Regions from separate parts of the Homo sapiens genome. Here region 1 is linked to region 2. Evidence: promoter capture Hi-C in 16 types of primary human blood cells and fetal thymus (Javierre and others, 2016). All regions are on one chromosome and are shown on one strand. The core of a region is centred on a gene start or on the middle of the fragment in contact, and the rest is flanking DNA. Distances in the headings are between cores, read along the strand shown.

The links. Contacts are between HindIII fragments. The CHiCAGO score rates a contact against its expected background, and 5 or more counts as called.
Region 1: a contact is called between a fragment that was not itself captured here and the fragment with the promoter of DELE1 in region 2, in 1 of 17 cell types (total B cells). The highest score is 5.6, in total B cells.

Annotation. Positions count from the first base shown.
Region 1 is chr5:141,627,646-141,633,894 of GRCh38, reverse strand. HDAC3 (histone deacetylase 3) reads left to right here. Exons shown (of 15, transcript NM_003883.4): 4 at 3,770-3,851; 5 at 3,979-4,035; 6 at 4,156-4,211; 7 at 4,589-4,722; 8 at 5,256-5,336; 9 at 5,708-5,781; 10 at 5,938-6,002. Among named protein-coding and RNA genes, the nearest start is that of HDAC3, 6.1 kb to the left of the region's middle. The HindIII fragment of the contact is 184 bases long and covers 2,307-2,490 here.
Region 2 is chr5:141,922,153-141,928,821 of GRCh38, reverse strand. It overlaps DELE1 (DAP3 binding cell death enhancer 1), which reads right to left and starts at 4,951. Exons shown (of 12, transcript NM_014773.5): 1 at 4,850-4,951; 2 at 4,127-4,241; 3 at 3,295-3,412; 4 at 524-671. The coding sequence starts at 4,880. RefSeq lists an enhancer at 4,557-5,070. The HindIII fragment of the contact is 14,517 bases long and covers 1,207-6,669 here.

The DNA of each region.
Region 1 (6,249 bases), core at 1,149-3,648, 290 kb after region 2:
ATACGTCCATCACCTAGCTTCAACGCTTATGAGCAAATGGCCACTCTTTTTTTTTTTTTTTTTTTTTTTGAGACAGAGTCTCACTCTGTAGCCCAGGCTGGAGTGCAGTGGTGCAGTCTTGGCTCACTGCAACCTCTGCCTCCTGGGTTCAAGCGATTCTCATGCCTCAGACTCCCGAGTAGCTGGGATTACAGGCGCCTGCCACCATGCCTGGCTAATTTTTGTATGTTTAGTAGAGATGGGGTTTCACTATGTTGGTCAGGCTGGTTTTGAACTCCTGACCTCAGGTGATCCACCAGCCTCAGCCTCCAAAAGTGCTGGGATTACAGACGTGAGCCATCGCACCCAGCTGAGCAAGTGGCCACTCTTACTTCATCTATACTCCCTCATGTTAGATTGTTTTAAAGCAGATCCTAGATGTTATATCCTTTTATCCATAAATATTTTATTATGTATCTCTAAATGATACTCTTTTAAAAAAACATAGTATCATTATCAAACCTAAAAAGTTAACAGTGATTCCTTAATGTCATCAAATATGGGATCAATATTCAAATTTCTGCAGTTGTCTCATAATTATTTTGTAGCTAATTTAAATCCAGATCTAAACAAGGTCTATACAGTGCATTTGGTTGATATGTCTCTTAAGACTTTTAATTTGTAGCTTTTCTGTCACCCCCTTGAATTTATTTCTTGAAGAAACCAGGTTGTTGATCCTGTAGAATTTCTTATGATAGCTACCATTTACTGAGTGCTTACTCTGCTAGGTATTATGCCAAGGGTTGCTGGTAAATCCACTTAATTCTCATACCAATCCTTAGATGTATTATAATAGACCTTTTTCTGATGTTATATATAAGTAAATTGAGGTTTGGGAATATCTAGGTAACTTAGCCGTAGTCACATAACTGGTCATTGGAGGGGGCATGATCCAGATCCCGGGTTTTTAAACCACTAATCTGTTTTCCTGAAAGATCTTAATGACAGAAGCAGCCAGGGCTGTAGGATAGAGGCCAACTCATTAGGCTGGCATTGGCACCTTTCCAACTTTATCCCTACACCTCAGCTGCACAGGATGCCTTCCTGGAATGCCCTTAGTTCTCTATTCAACCTCTTCAAGGCCTTCTCAGCCTTCACACCATCTCCATGAAACCTTTCTTGACCACACCAGCCCATAGAGCTCTGTCTTGCACACACTGCACTGCTCATTTGGTGTTCAGTCACATGCTGTTTGGGGAGGTTTCTTGTTTTTTTGTTAGTATTCCTGCTGTTATTTCTGAGCTCACTTTCTAGCTCTGTGAATACAGGGTCAGCCCTTACGCCACACTGGGGTCCCGTAGATGCTCTTTGTGCGATTAGGGAATGCTAATTAGAATACTATCTCTGGGCTATTTATGCTGCATCAGTCTTCCTGTCAAACAAGTTACAGTTGTGCTTATCTGTATTTCCGATGAGAATCAGGAATTTTTCTTCTGTTTAATGAATTTCTGATTGGTTTCAAAGTATTCTAACATAAGTAGCCAAATTGTACTATAGGCCTTTAAATGAAAAAAATAAAAAAGTAGTCCCAAGCCGGGCGCAGTGGCTCACGCCTGTAATCCCAGCACTTTCGGAGGCCGAGGCGGGTGGACCACCTAAGGTCAGGAGTTCAAGACCAGCCTGGCCAACATGGTGAAACCCCATCTCTACTAAAAATACAAAAATTAGTCATGTGTGGTGGCACGTGCCTGTAGTCCCAGCTACTCCAGGAGGCTGAGGCAGGAGAATTGCTTGAACCCGGGAGTTGGAGGTTGCAGTGACCTGAGATTGCACCACTGCACTCCAGCCTGGGCAACAGAGTGAGACTCTGTCTTAAAAAAAAAAAAAAAAAAAAATTCCAGACCTCTCCTTTTCACCCATAAATCCCTCTGCCCAGTGACAGCCACTTTCAGCTCCTTTCCCCTATGTCTTCTGGTATTTACCTTTGGATTTCTAAATAATAATATTAATTGACTGTTATTACTAATCTGTAATCCTTAGGTAATACCTGTTATATACTAGGTACTGTTCTAAGTGCTTTACAGCCATTAGCTTATTTAATCTCAACAACCCCTATGAAGCAGGGTCTATTATTGTTTCCTTTTACCGATGAGGACACTTAAGCACAGAAAGGTTAAACAGTTTGTACAACCTCACTATCATTAGTAGGTGTTAAAGAACCTAGGTAGTCTAGCTCCAGAATCGGTGCTTGTAATCATACTCCCCTCCTGTATTGTCTCTCATTGCTATTTCTTCGTCTGTCAATTTTAGGCATTATCTGTTAAGCTTTTAGTATGGGATATGAGCATTTAGTCTTCTTACACCATCACATTGGCTTCCTTTCCCCTTTCAGCTTCATAGTAATTTAAAAATAAATCAGTATTCTGTGTTTACATTATTATAACTCTGAAAGATTCATTTACTATCAAGCCAAATAGTGTAGTGTGATTTAATCTATTTTCTTCTAAAGCTTTTTGTTTTTCCTGGAGCTGACAATTGCATTATTTTTTCATTTGCTTAGTTTTCTGGTATTAATCACTAATTCTTTCCAAGCCTTTTGAGAAACTATAAAACCCTACAATTCTTGCTTGAACCCGGGAGGCGGAGGCTGCAGTGAGCCGAGATCGCACCATTGCACCCCAGCCTGGGCGACAGAGCAAGACCCCATCTCAAAAAACAAACAAACAAAAAACCCCTACAGTTCTGTTTTTCACATGGTCAAATGTATCAGCTGCACTATTTTTTTTTTTTGAGACCTAAAACTAGGGATTGCCTAAGCCTTTCCTTTTTAAAAAGTCAGGTTTATATAGGTATAACTTGCATACAGTAAAATTAACCTTTTTTAGGTGTAAGAGTTCTGAGAGGTTTGATAGAATATATCAAGGTATAGGGCCAGCGCCGATGGCTCACACCTGTAGTCCCAACAATTTGGGAGGCCAAGGCGGGAGGATCACTTAGGCCCAGGAGTTTGAGACCAGCTTGGGCAACATAGTGAGACCCTGTCTCTACAAAAAAAAAAAAAAAAAAGGTATCAAGGTACAGGAAATTTCCACTACCCAACAAAGGTCACTCACCCTTTTGTAGTTAATAACTTCTCTGCAACCTAGATCCAGCCAACTACTGATAAGATGTCTGTCCTTGTATTTTACCTTTTCCAGAATGTTACATAAATGGAGTCATACAGTAAGTAGGCTTTTGTGTCTGGCTTCAAGCCTTTACTTTTTATAAAGAATAACAATGGTAATAATTATAGCTGACATTTATTAAAGGCTGAGCGGATACTGTATACTGTGCTACAGGCTTTTCGTGGGTTATCTCATCACTGTTTCACATATGTAGGTATACAGTTCTTTCTTTAAAATATGTGACTGAAAAATATTATTGAACATTATGCTAAAATTTGTTACACTGAGAAGACTAAGAAAAACAGAGCTCATGTTTTCTTTCAACTGATTTCCTTTTTACATTGTACTTGAGTACCTGGAAGCTGCTTGCTTCTTTCCGCAGCTAGGATACAAACTCCCTGACAGTTAAGTGCTTCTTTACTTCCCATCCAGTGCCTTGCACAGGGCTTGGTACATGGTTTGGTCCAAAATATTTGTTGAATAAATTTGCAGATAGCCCACGTGTGTAGGAGAGGGAGAGAAGGTTCTTGAAAAATGGAGATTGGAGGAATCTAGGATGGGGAGGGAGATATGGGAAGGGCCCAGACAGAGGCAGGAGGGTTCCAACTTGTTCCTCTTCCCTGCAGCCCAGTGTTTCCCGGGCTCTTTGAGTTCTGCTCGCGTTACACAGGCGCATCTCTGCAAGGAGCAACCCAGCTGAACAACAAGGTGACATAGTCCCGAGTCCTGTTCTTCCTTTCCTCTGGATCCCTGGACTCGGGATTTAACCCTGATCCTGGGCTCCCAGCTTGAGGGGTGGGCAGGAAGGACTGTGACTTAGGTGTTTGTCTTTCAGATCTGTGATATTGCCATTAACTGGGCTGGTGGTCTGCACCATGCCAAGAAGTTTGAGGTGAGTGAGGAGGTGATGGGAAAGACAGTGGCCATCCTAGGGTAGGTGTTTAGGATGATGGTGGGGGGCAGCTGGGAGGGGAATTGCTCTTCTCTTTATGAGACCACTGTCTTGCCATAGGCCTCTGGCTTCTGCTATGTCAACGACATTGTGATTGGCATCCTGGAGCTGCTCAAGTAAGTAGCCCAGGAGGAGATGGGGGCAGTTACGGGATTCTTGGCTGAGGAGGTCTCTCAGTCTCAACCCTGACCTTGACCTCCCTCCTCCCTGATTAGCTTCTCCCAAGTTCTTGATGCTTTATTCAGGCTGCCTCTTCCACTGCTGCAGATTCCCTACTGCCTGCTCACATTTCAGCCTTCTCTGCATATCCCTCTCCTGTCCCTGCCTCTAGCCTCTAGGCTGGAGCCCCCAGTTGCCTTTAGGGAACTGGTGACATTAAGTTTCAGGTGACCAGGGCAGAAGCAGACTCTTCACAATTCGAGACCCGGTGTTTGAGAGGAGTGGGTTGGGGGGTTCACTTCTAGCTCAGACCCTGGCTTTGGCTTCCCTCTAGGTACCACCCTCGGGTGCTCTACATTGACATTGACATCCACCATGGTGACGGGGTTCAAGAAGCTTTCTACCTCACTGACCGGGTCATGACGGTGTCCTTCCACAAATACGGAAATTACTTCTTCCCTGGCACAGGTATGGGAATAGGGATTACTTTCCCCTTTGCACCCTTCAGCTCTTTACTATGAGTGCCTCCTTCTCAGCCTTCTAGTCTCATCTCAGGTGTCCCCTCCTCAGAGAAGCCTTTCCTTACCACTCCAGTTATCATAATCACCTCCTTCCCCATTCCTCTGTTACATCAGCCTCATTGTTTCCCTCAGAACACTCACTGCTATTTGTGTTTATTGTGGTTTTTTGTTTTGTTTTGTTTACTGCCTCCCTCCTCCTCATGGCTATTCCCTAAGAATATAAGCGTGGTGGGATATCGTAAATTTCATTAGTTCCATTCGTTGCTGCATCCCTACTGCCTAGTACACAGTTGGCTCAGAGTGGATCCCCCAAAACTATTTGCCCAATGAATGCAAGCTGCAAGAGATTTAGTGGCTCTAGGGAGTTTATGGTGAAGCTACATAGATGGAATGAGAGGCTCCCAGAGTGCAGATTGGGGCTGAAACAGCTGGGTTGTGGGTGCTTCCCATGTGTGGCTACCACCACCCACTTCCCTACAGGTGACATGTATGAAGTCGGGGCAGAGAGTGGCCGCTACTACTGTCTGAACGTGCCCCTGCGGGATGGCATTGATGACCAGAGTAAGTACCGAAGTCTTCCCTCTGTTCCCTAGGCCCCTTCTTTTTCTCCTTGAAATAACCTCTTCTGCCTGGTATTGTCTGCTGTTGGGCCAGTTGTCCTTAAGGATGAATGGCCTTCAGAGGGACCATGAATCTCTGGAAATTGTATGCAACATATCATGTGTATGTGCATTTTTCTGGGAAAAGTCATTGGCTTTCATCAGTCACTCATAGCAGTCTGGGATCCCTTCCAGAAGTTTCAGACCAGTGATTTGATTCTTTTGGGTGGCCCCTTTCCTGGGCTACATGCTCGCTCAACCCCCTTTTTCCTTTTGTTCCCTGTCTCCCCATCCCCTTGGGGTGCCAGGTGCCCATCTTTGGCCCTCTCCCAGGTTACAAGCACCTTTTCCAGCCGGTTATCAACCAGGTAGTGGACTTCTACCAACCCACGTGCATTGTGCTCCAGGTAATACTGTCAGTTCCTCCTCAGGAGTGTTCTGCCTGGGCTTGGGGAAAGAGAGCAAGGGAAGAGGAGGTTCTTTAGGTTGGTGGTGGAAGGGGTATCTGTGATGTTCTGATCAGTTCTGATCACTGCACTTTCCTGGGGTTTTGCTTTTTGCAGTGTGGAGCTGACTCTCTGGGCTGTGATCGATTGGGCTGCTTTAACCTCAGCATCCGAGGGCATGGGTGAGACTTGCTCTCCTTCTTCTCCCCAAGGTTTTTAAGTGGCCTTGGACTTCAGTACGTGGGTGGGGGTAGTTGGGGAATGGGCCTCACCTCTTCTTGGAAATCAAAAATAGCTACAAATTGTACTTGAACTAGAAATGTCATCTTGAACAGGGTTCCCTAGATGGTCATTCATTCACGATATATTTTTATTAAGCACCTGTTATGTTCCAGGCATCATACCACATCATGGGGATGGAATAAGGAG
Region 2 (6,669 bases), core at 3,702-6,201:
TGGGTTTTATTATTACCCCAATTTATAGATAAAGAAACCGAGGCAGAAGGAAGTTAAAAGTGACTTGTTCAGGGACATAAGACTAGTATGCAGCAATTTTGGGACTTGAACCTCTATAATCTGACTCCAGAGCCTCAACCACTAGGCTATGTTGCTTCTGCACCATGGCACATAATAGGTGCTCAATAAAGATTCATTTATTTATGAATGACTGAGTGACTGACCAGAGAATAATTTAACTGGTTGAATGTGGGCCAGGAAGCCACACCCAGAATCTAAAGTAGTCTGGACCCTGTGGGCCTCCCTTGGTTGGAGGTGATGGGAGGAAATGGAAAGACACTGAGGGGCAGGTGTGGCCCATGCCCTGGGTGGATAGAACTTCCCCACATTCCTCTTCCTCTGACTTCAGATAGGAAAGGCAAGGAGCTGCTGATGGCTCTTTTCCTGAGGTGTGTCCAGAGACGCTTCCTGGCCCAGAGAAACGCCCAGCCCAGCCCTCCTGTCCCCAGGACTGAGAACTCACAGGAGCATGGGTGCCACAAGGGAGATGAGAAGAAACGGTCCAGGGGACTGTGCCAGGAGCAGTGTTCTACCCGCTGAGGTCCTGCTGGCAGGGATGCCTGGAAGTGGATCTGCCTTGCCAGCTGCAGGGCCAGCACGGCCAGAGTGCCCTGGGAAAGACAGCACGTTAAGGACACGGTCCTTCACCAATCAACTCCATCAGACCCGGCCTTATTCTCAAACATCACTTCCTCAGGAAATCCAGGTGGGGCAGCTCCCCGACTACAAACTTTCACAACACCCTAACTTCTCTGGAGCCCTGACCACACTGGCATTTAAACAATCATCTCTACATTTATTTATCTAAGGTCTGTCTCTCCTGTTAGTCTATAAGCACGACATGGGCAGGGACCATGTGTGTTTTACTCACCAATGTATCTCTGGTGCCCAAGTACAGCACAGTGCTAATATATAGTAGGGACCTAATAAGTACAACCTGAATAAATGCTTGATCAAGTGACTAAATAAGCGAAGACTAAGCAGGCAAAAAGATAATGGGGTAGGTTGGCACCTAGTTGCAAATATAGCAACAGGTCAGAGTTCCCCATTAGGCTCTCTTTCCAGTCTTGCACAACCCCTCCTTCCACCAACTCCCATTCCCCCAGTGAAGCCACCCCAGCACACACACATCTCCAGGTGTAAGCTTTGTAAAGGTGTTTCTTCTCTGACAGGTCTGCAGAAGACCTGAGCTAGCTCTTATCCCAGAGACTCCTTGGTTTTCCCTGTCTCCTGTCTCTCCTTATGTTATGCTTAAGAAGGTTGACCCAGGGTCGGGTGCAGTGGCTCATGCCTGTAATCCCAGCACTTGGGAGGCTGAGGCAGGTGGATCACTTGAGGCCAGGAGTTGAAGACCAGCCAACATGGAGAAACTCTGTTCCACTAAAAATACAAGAATTAGCCAGGCGTGGTGGGGCACACCTGTAATCCCAACTACTCGGAGGTTGAGGCATGAAAATTGCTTGAACCTGGGAGGCAGAGGTTGCAGTGAGCCAGGATCGCACCACTGCGCTCCAGCCTAAAAAAAACACACAGGTTGACCCAGATACTTACTTGTTGCTCCAGGCACTGCATACAATAGCAAGTAAGACAGACATAATTTCTGCCCTCATGAAGTTTATATCTTGTGTTTAGAAAGACAAAACACAACTACAGAGAGAAATAGAGTAATTACTAGTGATGTTAAATGCCAAGAAGGAAACTAATCAGAGAGTTACACAGAGCATAAAAGGGGTCCTGACAAGACAAGGAGTCAGGGAAAGCCTGTCTGTGGGGGTGACGTGTGGGCTAAGGCCAGAAGAAAAGGCACCAGCATTGTGAAGAACAGAGACAAGTATCCATGGTACTGAGGACAGCTTGCGTGCAGACCCTTTCATATGAGCAGTAGTGACAGAGCACAGGGATGGCATTGGGACTTCTGGAATCCAGGCCCACTTCCTACTTCTCACTATGGGACAGCCCTAGGGCTCAGATCTTCTTTGGCAACATGGGAAAATGCTCCTCTCTTCAGGGTATGATATGGCCTTAGTCCACAGCTCCCCATAGAGGGGTAACCCTGTCATGGAGACATCCCAGGCTCAGCTCTGCTGATGACACCAATTTACAGATGAGAAAGCCAAGGGTCACACAGGTCAAGTCATTTGTCCAAAGTACACAGCACGAAAGCAGCAGGGATGAGCTGTGACAAACATGAGAGTGATGTGTGTGTCAACTTCATTCAGAAGATCTTATAAGCAGAACTTCCACCTGGAACATTGCCTGAAAAGCGAAGACTCTGCCCTATGAGACCTAGTGTTCACTAGTAAGAATCTGACCTTATAGATCAGGTTCAACAAATATTTTTGAGCAACTATTACGGGCTAGGCTCTGTATTTGATGCAGCAACCAAGCAGTAGAACATGAACTCCAGAGTTAAATCTGGCTCCTCCACTTAACAGGTATGAGACCCTACGCATGTTACCTAATATTTCAGAGCCTGAGATTCCTCAGCTGTAAAATGAAGGTGATATTTCCCTTGTAAGATTTTTGTAAGGATTACACAAGATAATGCATGTATAATACTTTACATTAATAAATAATGCTATAAGGCCGGGCGCGGTGGCTCACAGCTGTAATCCCAGCACTTTGGGAGGCCGCGGTGGGTGGGTCACGAGATCAGGAGTTCGAGACCATCCTGGCCAAAATGGTGAAACCCCGTCTCTACTAAAAACACAAAAATTATCCAGGCGTGGTGGCACGTGCCTGTAATCCCAGCTACTTGGGAGGCTGAAGCAGGAGAATTGCTTGAACCCGGGAGACGGAGGTTGCAGTGAGCCAAGATCATGCCGCTGCACTTCAGCCTGGGCGACAGAGAAAGACTCTGTCTCAGAAAAAAATAATAATTTAAAAATAAAAAAAATGAATAATAAAAAAAAGATGCAATGTATTATTATTTATTGTAAGATCCATGAAGGCAAGAATGTATCTATCTTGTTCTCTGCTATGTCCGTAGTGACTAGCAAAAATGCCTGGCCCAGACAAGGTGTTACATAAATGTTTACTGAATTAAATGAGGAAAACATACATGGCGGGGGTGTGGAAAGTGGCAATATCTCCTTGAATATGCTCCAATACCATGGGTTACTTGTTAAATGGACACAGTGATTCCCTAGCCCTTGTTCCAGGTTCGGCTGTATACCCATGAAGGATCATTCTCATCTACACTGAAGGTCAAGGACCAGGCTGGGGAAGCCTTACCCAAGATATGGCATCCCATAGGGTGTTCGGGGAGACACGGGAAGACATCCATTGGAAGGCATCCTTCCATCCATGGGACCTTGGACCCCCGCTCGTGCCTGGGCCATGGGGACCTGACCTAGATGATGAAATAAGAGGCTATCAAGTAGGGGCAAAGGGAGACCAGGGACTGGGTGCGGTGGCTCACACCTGTAATCCCAACAATTTGGGAGGCTGAGGTGGGTGGATCACGAGGTCAGGAGTTCAAGACCAGCCTGGTCAAGATGGTGAAACCCCATCTCTACTAAAAATATAAAAATTGGCTGGGTACAGTGGCTCACACTGTAATCCCAGCACTTTGGGAGGCTGAGGCGGGCAGATCATGAGATCAGGAGATCAAGACCATCCTGGCTAACATGGTGAAACCCCGTCTCTACTAAAAATACAAAAAAAATTAGCCAGGCGTGATGGTGCATGCCTGAAATCCCAGCTACTTGGGAGGCTGAGGCAGCAGAATCGCTTGAACCCAGGAGGCGGAGGTTTCAGTGAGCCAAGATCGCGCCACTGCACTCCAGCCTGGGCGACAGAGCGAGACTCTGTCTCAAAAAAAATAAAATAAAATAAAAATTAGCAGGGTGTGGTGACGGGTGCCTGTAATCCCAGCTACTCGGGAGGCTGAGGCAGAGAACTGCTTGAACCTGGGAGGCGGAGGTTGCAGTGAGCTGAGATTGCCCCACTGCACTCCAGCCTGGGCGACAGAATGAGACTCCATCTCAAAAAACAACAAAAAAAAAAAAATAAAAAAAAAGGGTGACTAGGGGAGGAAATGAGTGGTAAAATGGCAGTATCTTACCTGTCGAGGTTAGGCACAGGAACCAGCAAAGTGGAGGAGGTAGTCTGAGGCCCATCTGGGCTGGTGGACTTAGGAGTCACCCTCCAGAGGCTAGGTCCCAGTGTACGGGGAAGAGCTGTACAGAACAACCAAAACTCAGGCACCTCAACAAGAACCCAGGAATCACTGTCATCTGCCTCAGCAGAGGTTCTTAAACATGGATACACATGGGAATCTTTTATCTACTACAGATTCTAGGGTAGTACCCCAGAACCAATAAACTAAGATTTCTCAGGGTAGAGCATCCACGTTTTTTAAAAGCGCCCATGTGATTCTGCTGGTCTCCTGTGGATGCCAACCACTGTTCTAAGATGACCAAACGTTCATACATATACTCTCACTAATGTTTGGGGCTCTTTGACTCTAAACCTCTCCTCTCTTCACTGGCTATGCCTACTCCATTGGCCCCTAATCCTCTTTCATTCATTCAGTCCACCATCTCCTGCCATTGGACTCCTCCCCCTCCCAACAGTCCTACCAACTTCTTGGACTCCACCCTCTTCTAGCTAGGCCCATCCACATCTCAAATTCCAGCAGCCCCTGACTTCCCCGCCCTCTTTCAAGCCCCGCCTTCCTTGGCTCTAACCCGGCCCACGATCGCTTCGGCTGTTTCCTCGGGCCCGCCCCCACTCCAGTTCGGTCTTTGCGGCCCAGAGTGACGCTGGTTGCTTGGACGTCCCTTACCTCGGCCCAGGAGTCCCGGGAGGCGCCACATGTCGCTGCCAGCACCACAGAGAGCTCGCAGCCGAAAGCGCGAGACCAACCCTTGGGACAGCGGCTAGAAAGGCCGCCGCGATGCCCCGAGTGGCCGAGTACCCGAGGAAGCTCTGAGCTGGCCAATTAGAAGGGAGCCCGGCCGGAAAGACGGCGCTGCAGAGAGGAAGTGCAGGGCGGAGGCGTATTCGGGGCCAGCGGGGCGGTGACGTGCGGCAAGGGCATGGGGATGTGGGCCCAGGCTTCCGTGGGGGATGTCCTTGGCGTTCCCAAGCCGAGGCAGGGGACCGCAGGTGGCGAAGCGAGCCACCCGGAAGCGGGACCTTCGGGAAGTGGGGCTGGAGCGGCTTCAGGGAAGTAAGAGGACCTTGCAGACCGTGAGGCCGCGAACCAGGAAAGGCTTCTCCAGGCCCTAGGCTTGAGGAAGTGGGAGTAACCAGGCTCCATGGGCGGAGGAGAGGACCCCCGGGGTCCCACAAATGAAGCCAGTAGGCCGGGCTTCCGTCCAAGGCCACCTGCCTGGAGATGCCAGGCCAGGGCCCGACTGCGTAGGCGATGAGAAACCGCACAGGGCAAGGCTTTGATTCTGGGTTCTAGCTCCGGTCCAGCTTTATCTCACTGTGCAGCTTCATGCCAACCCCTTACCTTGTCGGGGCCCCAATACGCGCCAGATAGGGTCAAATGGAATGACTGGCCTGACAAGCTGAGATTCTTGGGTAGCTCCTTTCAAAATACCTGAGACACCACCCGCGCCCTATTAGAACCCTCGTCTTCAGACGTGGCAAAAGTTATGTATGTGTTTGTTCTTTTGTGGAAAAGAATAGTTCCGTCTGGTCCCGGTGGCTCACGCCTGTAATCCCAGCACTCTGGGAGGCCGAGGCGGGCGGATCACCTGAGGTCAGGAGTTTGAGACCAGCCTGGCCAACATGGTGAAACCCTGTCTCTACTAAAAATACAAAAATCAGTTGCGCGTGGTGGTGGGCGCCTGTAATCCTAGCTACTCTGGAGGCTGAGGCAGGAGAATTGCTTGAACACGGGAGACGGGAGGTTGCAGTGAGCCGAGATCGCGCCTGGGCGACAGAGTGAGACTCCATCTCAAAAAAAAAAGGAAAAAAAAATAGTTCCTTTCACCACATTTGAATCCGTGAAATAACGGAGCTTACATTCAAGTATAAGATGTTTAGATTTCCTCCCTATCCCCTTCCTCCAGGTATGTGACTTTAAGGTGAGTGGAAGTTGCTACCTGGGGTAAAAGTGTACTGGGGGCACCTACTTTTAGACCGAGGCATGTGGCTTGAAAGTTGTATTAATATGTTAGACAACTTTTTTTTTTCTTTTGAGACGGATTCTCTGTCGCCCAGGCTGGAGTGCAATGGTGTGATCTCGGCTCACTGCAACCTCTGCCTCCCAGGTTCAAGCGATTCTCTTGCCTCAGCCTCCCAAGTAGCTGAGATTACAGGCGCCTGCTACCACATCCTGCTAATTTTTGTATTTTTAGTAGAGACAGGGTTTCACCATGTTGGCCAGGTTGGTCTCGAACTCCTGGACCTCAGGTGATCCTCCTGCCTTGGCCTTCCAAAGTGCTGGGATTACAGGCTTGAGCCACCGTGCCTGGCCGTTAAAGAACTTTTGAGCCATATATCAGCCCGTTCTAGGATCTGAGAAGACAGCTGAGGAAAGAGCATTTGTGGCCTCCAGGAACACGGTCCAGTGGATTAGTAGTGGGCTTTGGAGTCCCACAAATCTGGGTTGGAATCACAGCTTGCTTACTTCGTAGGTATGTTATCTTG